Regions from separate parts of the Homo sapiens genome. Here region 2 is linked to region 1. The links are contacts of gene promoters, found by promoter capture Hi-C in blood cells and fetal thymus (Javierre and others, 2016). All regions are on one chromosome and are shown on one strand. The core of a region is centred on a gene start or on the middle of the fragment in contact, and the rest is flanking DNA. Distances in the headings are between cores, read along the strand shown.

Evidence for each region. Contacts are between HindIII fragments. The CHiCAGO score rates a contact against its expected background, and 5 or more counts as called.
Region 2: the fragment with the promoter of MED12L here is called in contact with the fragment with the promoter of RNF13 in region 1 in 1 of 17 cell types (fetal thymus); the score reaches 5.6 in fetal thymus.

The regions. Positions count from the first base shown.
Region 1 is chr3:149,810,784-149,816,338 of GRCh38, forward strand. It overlaps RNF13 (ring finger protein 13), which reads left to right and starts at 2,432. Exons shown (of 10, transcript NM_183381.3): 1 at 2,432-2,570. RefSeq lists enhancers at 1,789-2,300, 2,166-2,275 and a silencer at 1,806-1,955. The HindIII fragment of the contact is 6,716 bases long and covers 1-3,778 here.
Region 2 is chr3:151,084,060-151,089,424 of GRCh38, forward strand. It overlaps MED12L (mediator complex subunit 12L), which reads left to right and starts at 1,605. Exons shown (of 45, transcript NM_001393769.1): 1 at 1,605-1,877; 2 at 2,739-2,966. The coding sequence starts at 2,868. RefSeq lists silencers at 1,257-1,626, 2,063-2,357. The HindIII fragment of the contact is 3,991 bases long and covers 1-3,412 here.

The sequences.
Region 1 (5,555 bases), core at 1,182-3,681:
TTTAGAAAGATTAATACATTTTTCCAATATATTTTTTTCCAATTTACCTTTTTCAGCACAGGTTGGGAGAGTAAATGTTTTTGCAGAGTGTAGCCTAAATGCAGTACAAATGACACATTACCTTGTTCATAGTTGAGAGAACTATACCTATTGTTATCTGAAGAGCAGGTTGAAACCAGAAGTAAAATATTCTGTACTCAAGGTGCCTTTAAGGAATAAGCAAAGCTCTTTGTCTGAGCGTGGTGACTCATGCCTGTAATCCTAGCACTTTGGGAGACCGAGGCAAGAAGATCCTTTGAGGCCAGGAGTTTGAGACCTGCCTGGGCAACATAGCCAGACTGTAAGGCTAAAAAAAATAAAAAAATTAGCCAGGCCTGGTGGCACATGCCTGTAATCCTAGCTACTCCAGAGGTTGAGGTGGGAGGATTACTTGAGCCCAGGAGTTCTGGACTGCAGTGAGACATGATCTCACCACTGCACTCCAGCCTGGGCAACAGAGTGAGACCTTGTCTCTAAAATAAATAAAAATAAAACAACAAAACCCAAAGCTCCTCTCTGTGGACTTAATTTTTTTTTTTTTTTTTGGAGATGGAATCTTGCTCTGTTGCCTATGCCCGAGTGCAGTGGTGGGATCTCAGCTCACTGTAACCTCTGCCTCCCATGTTCAAGCGATTCTCCTGCCTCAGCTTCCCAAGTAGCTGGGATTACAGGTGTGCACCACAATGCCCGGCTAATTTTGTATTTTTAGTAGAGACGAGGTTTCACCATGTTGGCCAGTGTGGTCTTGAACTCCTGACCTCAAGTGATCCGCCTGACTTGGCCTCCCAAAGTGCTGGGATTACAGGCATGAGCCACCGCACCCGGCCTAAAAAAATTTATTTTGATGTTATGCAAGAAATCTGATTTAATATACCAATTTGGGATAATTTAATGAAAAAAATGCTTATAGAGATATTATAAATGTGTTTATACTAATTAGTCTTCTTAGTAATATTCCCAATGCTGACTTTTATTTATGACTTTCTTAAAGGCAGAATTGTGATTTAAGTATTGAATGTCTTTGCAACCAATGAAAAGTTAAGACTACATAGAATACTCATAGGATACACAGAAGAGGAAAGTACCTTTGATAGCTTTTATTTAATTTTTTAAAATTTGATCTTAAATTTCTTGTATTTGAATTTTATTTGAGTAGGTAATATTTGCAAGGTTCAAAATTCAAAAGGCACAAAAGGATACACAATAAGGAAAGAGTCTTTTCCCCATTGCTGTGTCCCACCTACTCAGGGCTCTCCAAGCAATCAAAGTGACAAGTTACATCCAATGGTATTCTACTAATACTCTGTGTGATAGCCTCCTCGCCACCATTTTTAAAAGATGATGTTGAAGGAGTTGAAGCCTGTAAAGGCCTTATTAAGGGTGCCTTATTATTTGAAGCAGAAGTAGTGCCTGATTCTATGTCTCCTGACATTTCTTTCAGGACTCTGTAATATTTGCCTAAGTCACACTGCTTTTGTAAGGTGGCGAGTTGGCAATGATTAATCAATGTGGATGGTACAATCCGGTAATTTAAGTTTCGACTGGTTTAAGATTGAGACAACCAGAAAGGAAGGCTTATCAGAAGGGCGGCAGGGGAGGAGATTTTTGGTTCATCAAAAGGAGGCAAGGGTTTTAAAAGGCTGACCTAGGGCCTGAATCACATGGTTTGACTTTTGCTAAGCCCCGGGGATGGCGCGTGTCAGGCCCAGAGTGCTGATGCCAGCGTGGATCCGAGCCAGGCCTCAGGGGACTGGCGTTCAGACCTCGGGCCGCTCGCATCTCTAACAATTTGAGCCCTACTTTAAGGTGTGGCCACGGTCCCCACCCACTCTGATCTCAGACTGGGCACGGTACGGAAGGCGGGCGGATGAGGCCTCGCCCTCGCCTCTTTAGTAGGTCGGGTGAGTGTAGTGTGCAGGGAAGAGACGCGTCAGCGCCAGGGCCAGGCCCGCCCGGGGGCAGCCCGGCAGCCGAATCTTGGGCTACTCTGTCCCAACAGCCGGAGCAGATCAGACCGACCGGCCCTGCCCGCTCGGTCCCGCGCCCTCCAGACCCTACGGTCTCCGTTTCTAGGGGCACATGGTTAGCGGCAGGCGCCCACAGCCAATCCACTTTGCCAGCCTGCCCCTTCCTCTGCCAAGAGCAGCTTCTTCAGCCGCGCTCCAGTTCCGCAGACGCCTGCCCCACCCTGCTCTTCCCTTCCAGGGAAGACGGATCACGCGGCCAAGAACGAGACTCGCAAACTGGGCATTTCTCCGAGCCGGGCTAGAGCAAGTAGCGAGACTCCGCGTGAGAGTGGGAAAGAGCCTTAACAGGCAACCATGTTGCCCAGTGGGTTTTCTGTGCCTTTGGGTGCGGACCAATGAGGCGCGTGGGGCGGGACTTCCGCTTCGCCTAGGTGTTGTCGTCCCTGCTAGTACTCCGGGCTGTGGGGGTCGGTGCGGATATTCAGTCATGAAATCAGGGTAGGGACTTCTCCCGCAGCGACGCGGCTGGCAAGACTGTTTGTGTTGCGGGGGCCGGACTTCAAGGTAAGACCCTGTCCGGCTTCGCGGCAGCCGGGCAGCTCGTTATCGAGCGGCCCAGAGAACATACCCCGCTTGTTGGCCCTCGAGCTCGGAGTCGGCCCTGCTGCTGAGGTCTTTGCTGCTCCTCTAGAGCTGGGTGAGAAGTCAATTAGGCTTTTTGCAAAAGGAATAAAATAGCCTTGCCCTCGGGGGACCGAGTCTCCCCTGCACTCTCATTCCGCGAGTTTGTGTGTGTCCAAAGTTGAGTTACCGGTTTTGCTTCTCTCATTCCCTTCTTGAGGCTGCAAGAGCCTGCCTGGAAAACATGTTTGGAAGGCTTTTCTTGGTCAAGTACCTGCCGCAACGTCCTCGGGCACATCGCTTGACTTTAGTTGAGGGGGCTGTTTTGTCTCTGAATAGAAGGAGGGCAGTCACTTCCTCTCTTTTACCCCCACCCCCTTTTTCTTTCCCTGGAAGCTCAGATTGCAGGTTTGGGACTTAACCCCTGCTAGGGCCAGATACTACGGTCAGTCAGCAGCTCTGCCTGTATGCTTGACTTGACTTGACTTGCACTTATTAAATAACTTTGTCCCAGAGAGAAAGAGAGAGTGGGCAGACATCGAAGCCAAACAGCAGTATCCCGGAAGCACTCATGCAACTTTGGTGGCGGCCACTCAGTTTTCTCTGCCAGTGTCTGGTAAATTCCTCTATTTTGTCCTAATCTGACAATAGTAAATAGTAAATTTCCAAAACTGTCGTTTCATCATCAGTTTCAGCACCGTGGGCAGCTGCTCGGGTCCTCTCTTGTTGCCCCAAACCTGCCCGGCTATTACTGTTCGTCAGTGATGCAGCAGAAACAGTGAAAACTGATGCATTCCTTTCAACAATGATGTGTTTGTTCTCCAAGGAGAACATCTGCAGTTTTTGATACAATATAAATAAGTAAGGTGGCTGTGCCTCCAAAGAGTTCTTCTGGAGAAACAGATCAATTCAAGATTTAAGGTAGGGCTTTCAAGAGTTTATGCTATTTAAGCACAGTTTTTTAATGGGTGGACATTAGCTCCATCTCGAAGTAACAAAACTGGACAGTGATAGCAATTAAAAAGAACTTTAAACAGGAGGTAAGAAGTGTAGTGCAGTGCTGTAGTGCAGGAAGTGTAGTGCAGTGCTGTAGTGCAGGGCCCATAAGGATTCATTAATAGATTTTAGAATCAATTTAGTACATTGACATAAGCTTTATAAAGAAAGAAAAAATACCAGAGGACATTGTATGGAATAAAAGTAAATATTATGGCAAGAAGCTTTTGTTTCAGTTTTTAACAGTATGTGTGTGTCAAGAGGAAGATGGAAATGTAAAGTGTATTATGGATTATGGCAAAAACAAATGTTTCAAAATACTAAATTCCAAATTTGGGAGTCAAGCTGGGTTCAGCTCTGCCATTTACTAATTCTGTGACATTTTCCGTAAATAAGAAATGAGTTGTTATGAGGATTAAATGAAACAAAATTTGTCTATTACATAATTTTTTTTTGTTTTGTTGGAAACTGTTGGAGAGAGGCACAGTTATTTTTCTCTATGTAGGGAATGAGAACTGTTTTATTAGTTTTTTTTTTTTTAACCTCTGCCTTTGTTTGAAGCTAGGCAGCTTGACATCTTGTCTCTATGTGTAATGCAAATCATAGACAGAATCTTGGTTTGAGAGGTATAATACTGAAGGGTTTGGGATAAGTTCTCATCTATGCTTGTATAAAGCTAATTTTCTCAATAATTTTGGAGGGGCATAAATTGTTGCTAGCATTCAGCTTTCTTCCCTTGATATTTTTCTGCATTCCAGAATAACGTAGATTTATCAGAACTTTTACAGGCACTAACTTTAGCTAAGTGAGGGTAGGCCTGAGGGTATGACTAAAGGGATAGATTTATGTCTTTGAGTTAAGTTGGCTAGGAAGGCATTTTATGCCTTATAGTTCTTGCCATAAGAGATGTATGAAATGAAATAGTTTGGTCAACTATCATGGTATGTTTTGCTTACTTCATGTAGGTGTGACCTAGAAATGGTTGGCATTTAAATAACAATATTTTTAAATCTGGGAATTGATGTTTAGCAGGAGGCAAATGAGTTTCAGTCAAAACAGTGTTTTGCACCATTTGTCATGTTTACCATATGGCATTGCATATGATAGTTTCACATGACATAAAAAGGGGAAGAAAGTTGGTAAGCATTGTTACTTTTCCCAAAAGAGGAAACAAAATTAGAAGCGAATTCCTTTTAATAAAGCATACTGGTGAGTCATTGTTCAAAAATGTATGTATTCTATAGATATTTATTGAGCATATATAAAAGTAAAATATTAAACTTTTATGAATCTTTTACATTACACAAAAGTTGATTTGGGAACAACACAGCATATGATTGGTATTGTCAAAGTTTATATAGCATAGTATATCAACAACAACAAAACAGTAATGTAGCTAATATTGATTGGTTAATATGAGCCAAATACAATTCTAAGTGCTTTATAATATCTCAGGTGGTTCTTACAGTCATTGATGTGGTAGATAGTAAGTTGTTTCCTTTTTATTTTTTTTTGGGACAGGGTCTTGCTCTGTTGCCCAGGCTGGAGCAATTATGGCTCACTGCACCCTCGACCTCCCGTGCTCAAGGGATCCTCCTATCTTAGCCCGACAAGTAGCTGGGACTACAGTCATAAACCCCCATGCCTGGCTAATTAAATTTTTTTTTTTTTTTTGTAGAGACAAGGTCTCATTATGTTGCTCAGTCTGGTATGAAACTTTAGGGTTCAAGTCATCCACCTGCTTCAGCCTTCCAAAATGCTGGGATTACAGGTGTGATACATCATGCCTGTCTTATCCCCATTTTCTAAGTGGGAAGTGGGGGAATTAAGGCATCACAGATACATAACTTCTGAGTTCACACAAGTAGCTGGTGGAGTAGCTGGAATTTGATCACAGGTATTCTGACTACAGAACGTCTGTCTCTTTTGTGT
Region 2 (5,365 bases), core at 355-2,854, 1.3 Mb after region 1:
ATTTCTTCAGCTTTTTGTATGTTTAATAATTTCCCTAATAAAGTTAGATAATAAAAAAAACCCTTTCGGCCGGGCGCGGTGGCTCACGCCTGTAATCCCAGCACTTTGGGAGGCCGAGGTGGGCGGATTGCGAGGTCAGGAGATCGAGACCATCCTAGCTAACACTGTGAAACCCCGTCTCTACTAAAAAAAAGAAATACAAAAAAAATTAGCCGGGCGTGGTGGCGGGCGCCTGTAGCCCCAGCTACGCGGGAGGCTGAGGCAGGAGAATGGCGTGAACCCAGGAGGCGGAGCTTGCAGTGAGCCGAGATCTCGCCACTGCACTCCAGCCTGGGCGACAGAGCGAGGCTCTGTCTCAAAAAACAACCAACCAACCAAACAAAGAAAACAACAACAACAAAAAACTGTCCTTTCTTTCAAACAAGGGAGCTACATTTGATAGATGCCTGTATCACAAGGGCAAGTCCAGCCATGAAATTAATCCCAGGATATTAGTGGAAGAGAAGACCCTGGGGCAAGATGGGGAAGGTGGTCAGGAAATGCCCTCCAGTGAAGTTAGGTAAATGCTCTCTAGAAGTAATTGTTCAGATTAAGGAAGCCAAAAGCTAAACACCTGACTCAGCCTCAAACTGGGTTTGGAGGTGCTCACAGGTCAGGATCAGGAGTGAGGAACTAGCCTCTACCACATTACCTTCACTTTATTTATCTCCTTCTTCCCCCTTTGCTTAAATGTCAACGAACATCAAAGTTGATGTTCAGATTCAACCAGCATTTCCAGAGCACCTACTATGTATCAAAGGCTTCCGGTTAGAATCTGCCTTTACCACCTTACAGAGAGGGAAGGCCGAGAATGCCTCAAGCCGTGGAGAACGTGAGTCCATCAGGCAAGGACAGGTTAGGAACCCAGTCCCTCCAAGTCCAAGTCAGGGAAAACAGGTCAGAAACTTAGAATCAGTCGTGGGTTCAAATTCCGACTCGTTTCGTGGCTTTCGGCAAGTGAGTGGTCCTCTCTGAGCTGGCTCAATTTCTCCATCCATAAAAAGGGTACAGTAAGACCGTGGAAGGTTGTAAGGACCAGAGATTCTGACTATCAAGATCCTGGCACGTAGCGAAGGCTCCATAAATGGCAGCCATCATTCTTGGCCAAGTGCGGGCGCATTCTCCCGGGCACGCCTCCCGCGGGGTCCCTCAGGACAGGCCGAGCCCGCCTCCGCGGCTCCGGTCTCGCAGAGCTCGCGCCAGGTGGCCCAGCATCTTGGTGCCCGCGCCCCGAAGCGAGGAGCGAGGGCGGGTTGGATGACCAAGGTCTGCCCTGGAGGATCACCCCCCCCGCCCCTTCCACGCTCCCGGCGCAGGTGAGGTTTTCGGCCCAGGCCACGGGGACCGCGACCTCTGGGGAGGTCGAGGCGGAGGGTGCAGCGGGGGGCTTGGAGCAGGGCTCCAGAGGGCGCTCCCTCCCTCGCCCAGGTTCACCCCAGGGCCAGCCTCGGCGCCGGGGCCCGCGGGCTGCGCGCTCTGCGGCTGCGAAAACCCGGAGAGGCGGATTGGAGCGCGCTCACCGCGCTCTCAGCCAACTCCTCCGCGGTCCGGCCGCCGAGCTGGGCATGCTCAGTGCGGACGCCGCGCCGCCGTCCGCCAACTCGGAAGCTCGCGCTCCCGGGCCGTGGGGGCGAGAACGCCGGCGGCGAGCCGGCGTCGCTCGCCGCCCCCAGACAGTGGCAAACTTCGCGGCGTTCCCGGAGCTCGTCCGGGCGAGGCAGATACCGCACAAATAAAATCAAATCCAAGTCCCCCATCCCAACCCGAATGATGGAGGCTGCGGCGGCCGGAGTGACCCCGCCGCCGCCAGCCCCAGCCCGCTAGCCGCGGACCAACAGGTAAAGTGTTGGGGGTTGGGGGCGGAAGGGAAGAGGAGCTGGGGCCGTGGGGAGGCGGCGGGCTGGAGGAGCCCGAGACGCCTGCGGGCTGGCTGCCCCCGTCGGCGCTCACAGCCATCGCTCCTCACCCCCTTCCCCAGCCCCTGGAGGGACTGTAAAGGGTTAAGTCGGCCCCACGCCACCGTGAGCACGGCCCCCTCCAGCCGCCGCGACCGCCAGCAGCGCGCCTCGGCGCCTGCCCGGAGCCGCCGAGGGGACCGTAGCTGCGGATGCGCCACTGGAACCTGGCGGGCGTCTAGGAGGCACCGGCCGCTTCCCACCGGCCGCATCCCTGCGTCTCGCGCCCCCTCCAGACCTGCCTCTGCCTGCACTGGCCCGGTCCGTGTCCAGGTGGCGGGGTCTGCGGGGCGCGTGGCGGCGGGGGAAGGGTCCCTGCCGGGGAAGAGAGGCGGGGGCGGTCCGCTCCACAGCTTCTTCCCGGGAGGGGAGGGCCACCCTCGCCTTGGGCGAGCACTTCAGCCACCAGCCTAGGCGCCAAGAAAAGTTTTTTTTTTTTTTTTTCCAGTGCCCCACCCCCACCCCCATCCTGCGCCCAGCTGGGGTGGGTTTGGGTCCATTGGTGAAAAAAGTCACACGTTCCCATCAGCTGCTCCTCCCCCTGGAGACAAGGTAGGGGGGAGCAGAGGAGGCAGGCGCCGCGGAGGACCCTGGCCGACCTCTAGTCCCTCCGCCGCCGCCACCGGAGCGGTGCGTCCCGGGGCTCGAGCGCAGCCGAGTACCCGCCGAAGGCTGTCCCCATCAGTGCGTGTCTGCTGCCGGGCAGCGGCAGCATCCAACCTGCTTTATTCCTCCTGCCTGCAGCGCCACAGCGAGCGAGCGAGCGAGGAGGGGGAGAGAGGGAGTCTGTCTGCAAAGTGCTGCTCCCTGGTGCTCAGAGGCGGCTGCTCCAGCTCCAACTCTCATTCATTTCGCCGGTTAACATGAGAGATCATGGCCGCCTTCGGGCTTCTCAGCTATGAGCAGAGACCGCTGAAGCGCCCCCGGCTCGGGCCGCCCGACGTCTACCCACAGGACCCCAAGCAGAAGGAGGTAAGGGCGCCGGCGGCCTCCCCGGCAACCGGGGCCGCGCTCTGCAGCACTGACCCGGGGCCAAGTTGGCCCAGCGGGCATCGCCGGCGCTGCGGTGGAAGAGGTCGGGGAGGGGGATTAGAGGCGGGGGCCAGGCTGGGGGTGCTGGGCGACCCCCCGGCGGCGGAGACCGAGCGGCTGTCAGTCCCCGCGCTCCACTGGGGCGCTCGCTTTCCATGTGCCGGTCGCTTTCCCGTTGCCGGGCCTTGCACGGCGCCGCCGGGCGCTTCTCGGGCTTCTTCCCTGCCGAAACCTTGCTCGCTCTCACCCGTTTCTGCCTGCTTTATTTTTCTTCTTGCCGCTTCGGTAAATCGTCGTAAACTTTTTGAAAAATGTTGGAATGCAGTGCATCCTACACTGAGGTCTTGCGTTTTGCTTTTGCTGGCCAGGGACGAAGGTGAGGGGGAAGCTTTTCAAATTTTCCAGTTTGGAATGGAAGTCGTTTTTATCGAAGTGATAAATATTTAGCTCTCTGAATATACCTCTGTAACCCTTCTGCCCTTTAAAAATTAAAATTAAGGAGAAACACTGATTTTCGTCTCTAGAGGCAATGGGCTTAATTGCTAGAGGCTGTTTTGTATACGTAAAAGCAGGCGAGTTACCTTGGGAGGGAATAGTTCCCAGGATTGCTTATTTCTTTGAATGAGATTAATTGGAGACACCTTGACTCTTGCACCAGCTACATTAGCTTCAATGGCTAGGGTAACCATGGCATTTTGTAGCTGTGTATCTGTTTGTCAGGAGTTAACAAGTAATTATGTAACAAGTCTCTAGTTATAATGATCACCTTTGGCTACACCATTTGCCCAGGGACTTGCCTTTTTTTTGTTTTTTTTTTGATCACCTGCTACCCAGCAGTGCTTTCTGAGTTTGCCAGCTGCAGTCCACCCATCTTCTGTTCAGCTAAACACGAACTGACCATATTTCAAAACTTACCTTTCTGAGAATCTAAAAACCCTCCATTAAAAGTTTGTGGGCCCACTGATAGCACAGAAAGGGCCTTGTAAACCAGGCAAGGAGGGGTCCTTAAGACTTTCCTTTTGATAAGTGTATCTTTCATTAGGAGAGTAAGTGCTTGTTCTGGCTAAACTGTCTTGCTTATAAAGTGTCTGAGAAGTAAGGAACAGCAACTCCTTTTAGAGGTTTAGCACACTAAATATGCTCTAGCATCAGTGGAGTCACGCAGATGAAAGCTGGGAAGGTTTTACAGGTGGTTTCCAGCACCAGCTTTACAGGATGGTAGAGGTTTGAGAAGATTTCCCAGATTTTTTTTCCTACCCGTTACCCCACCCTGCTACCCCAACTTAGAATGAAGTTAATGGTTAAGGACTGGAAATAATAGAGAAGCTGAGGATCAAGTGTACAGTTAATAGCTTAAAAATTATTGGGAGGAAATTCTTAAAGTTTTGATAGGGACAGGGATATTTTGTTGGTTGAACTTTATCATCTTGTAATTAATGTCTTACTCTGTCTTTCCAGAGGGCAGCATAATTGATGGCATGATGGCTTGGGGTGCTGTGTGGGCTTATTTAGCATTTGTTCTTCAGGCCAATGCTCATTTCACGACTGGGGCCTCTGATTCTGGAAAGAGTAATTTTGGATTTCAGGGTCTCACAACATTTTATGGAGTTCTAAAACTGGAAGCGACCTTAGGGACTACTTTCTATAACTTCCTTTTGACTAAGTGAAACAGGCCTGGGAAAGCTTGACTCGTTTAACCAAGGTGTATAGGTGAATAAGCAGAGGAGTTGTACCACCAAACCAGTATTTATGTCAAAACTAATACTGCTTTGAGGATGATTTATGCTAAATTATCTTCTGATGTTATCCCCTTTCCCCCAAGGCAGCCAATGTTTTAACTCTCCCAAGCAGACAGAGTTATGTGTGGCTGTAGCCAAATTTGGGTACAATATGGAACAGGTGCTTGGCTGTTCTTGGGTGGTTGGTGAGTAGAGTTTCCTAAGCTTTAGTTATTTATGTCCTACCTCCCTCAAGATTTCTACCCTACCCCTGTACCACCTGTACTTTTATTCTGAAGTTTTCTTTAAACTAATTTTTTAAGAAACTTTGTGTTTCCTGGGCAGTACTACACGTGGAGTCATGGATTTATTGAAATATATGTATATATAAAATTTATATCAAATCATGTTTACATACTATTTTTAATCTATTTGATATTACATGCACACACGTATATGATTATACATAATAAAATGAGACCATTACTATTAACACTTTAAAAGTTCATCTGTGTATCGAAAACAACAGTTGTGTTCCATTAGAGATAGCTGTGGTGGAAAATGCTGATTTAATGGAGGAAGTGTGGGCTTCCAAGTTGGGCCAACCTGGATTTAGCTTTT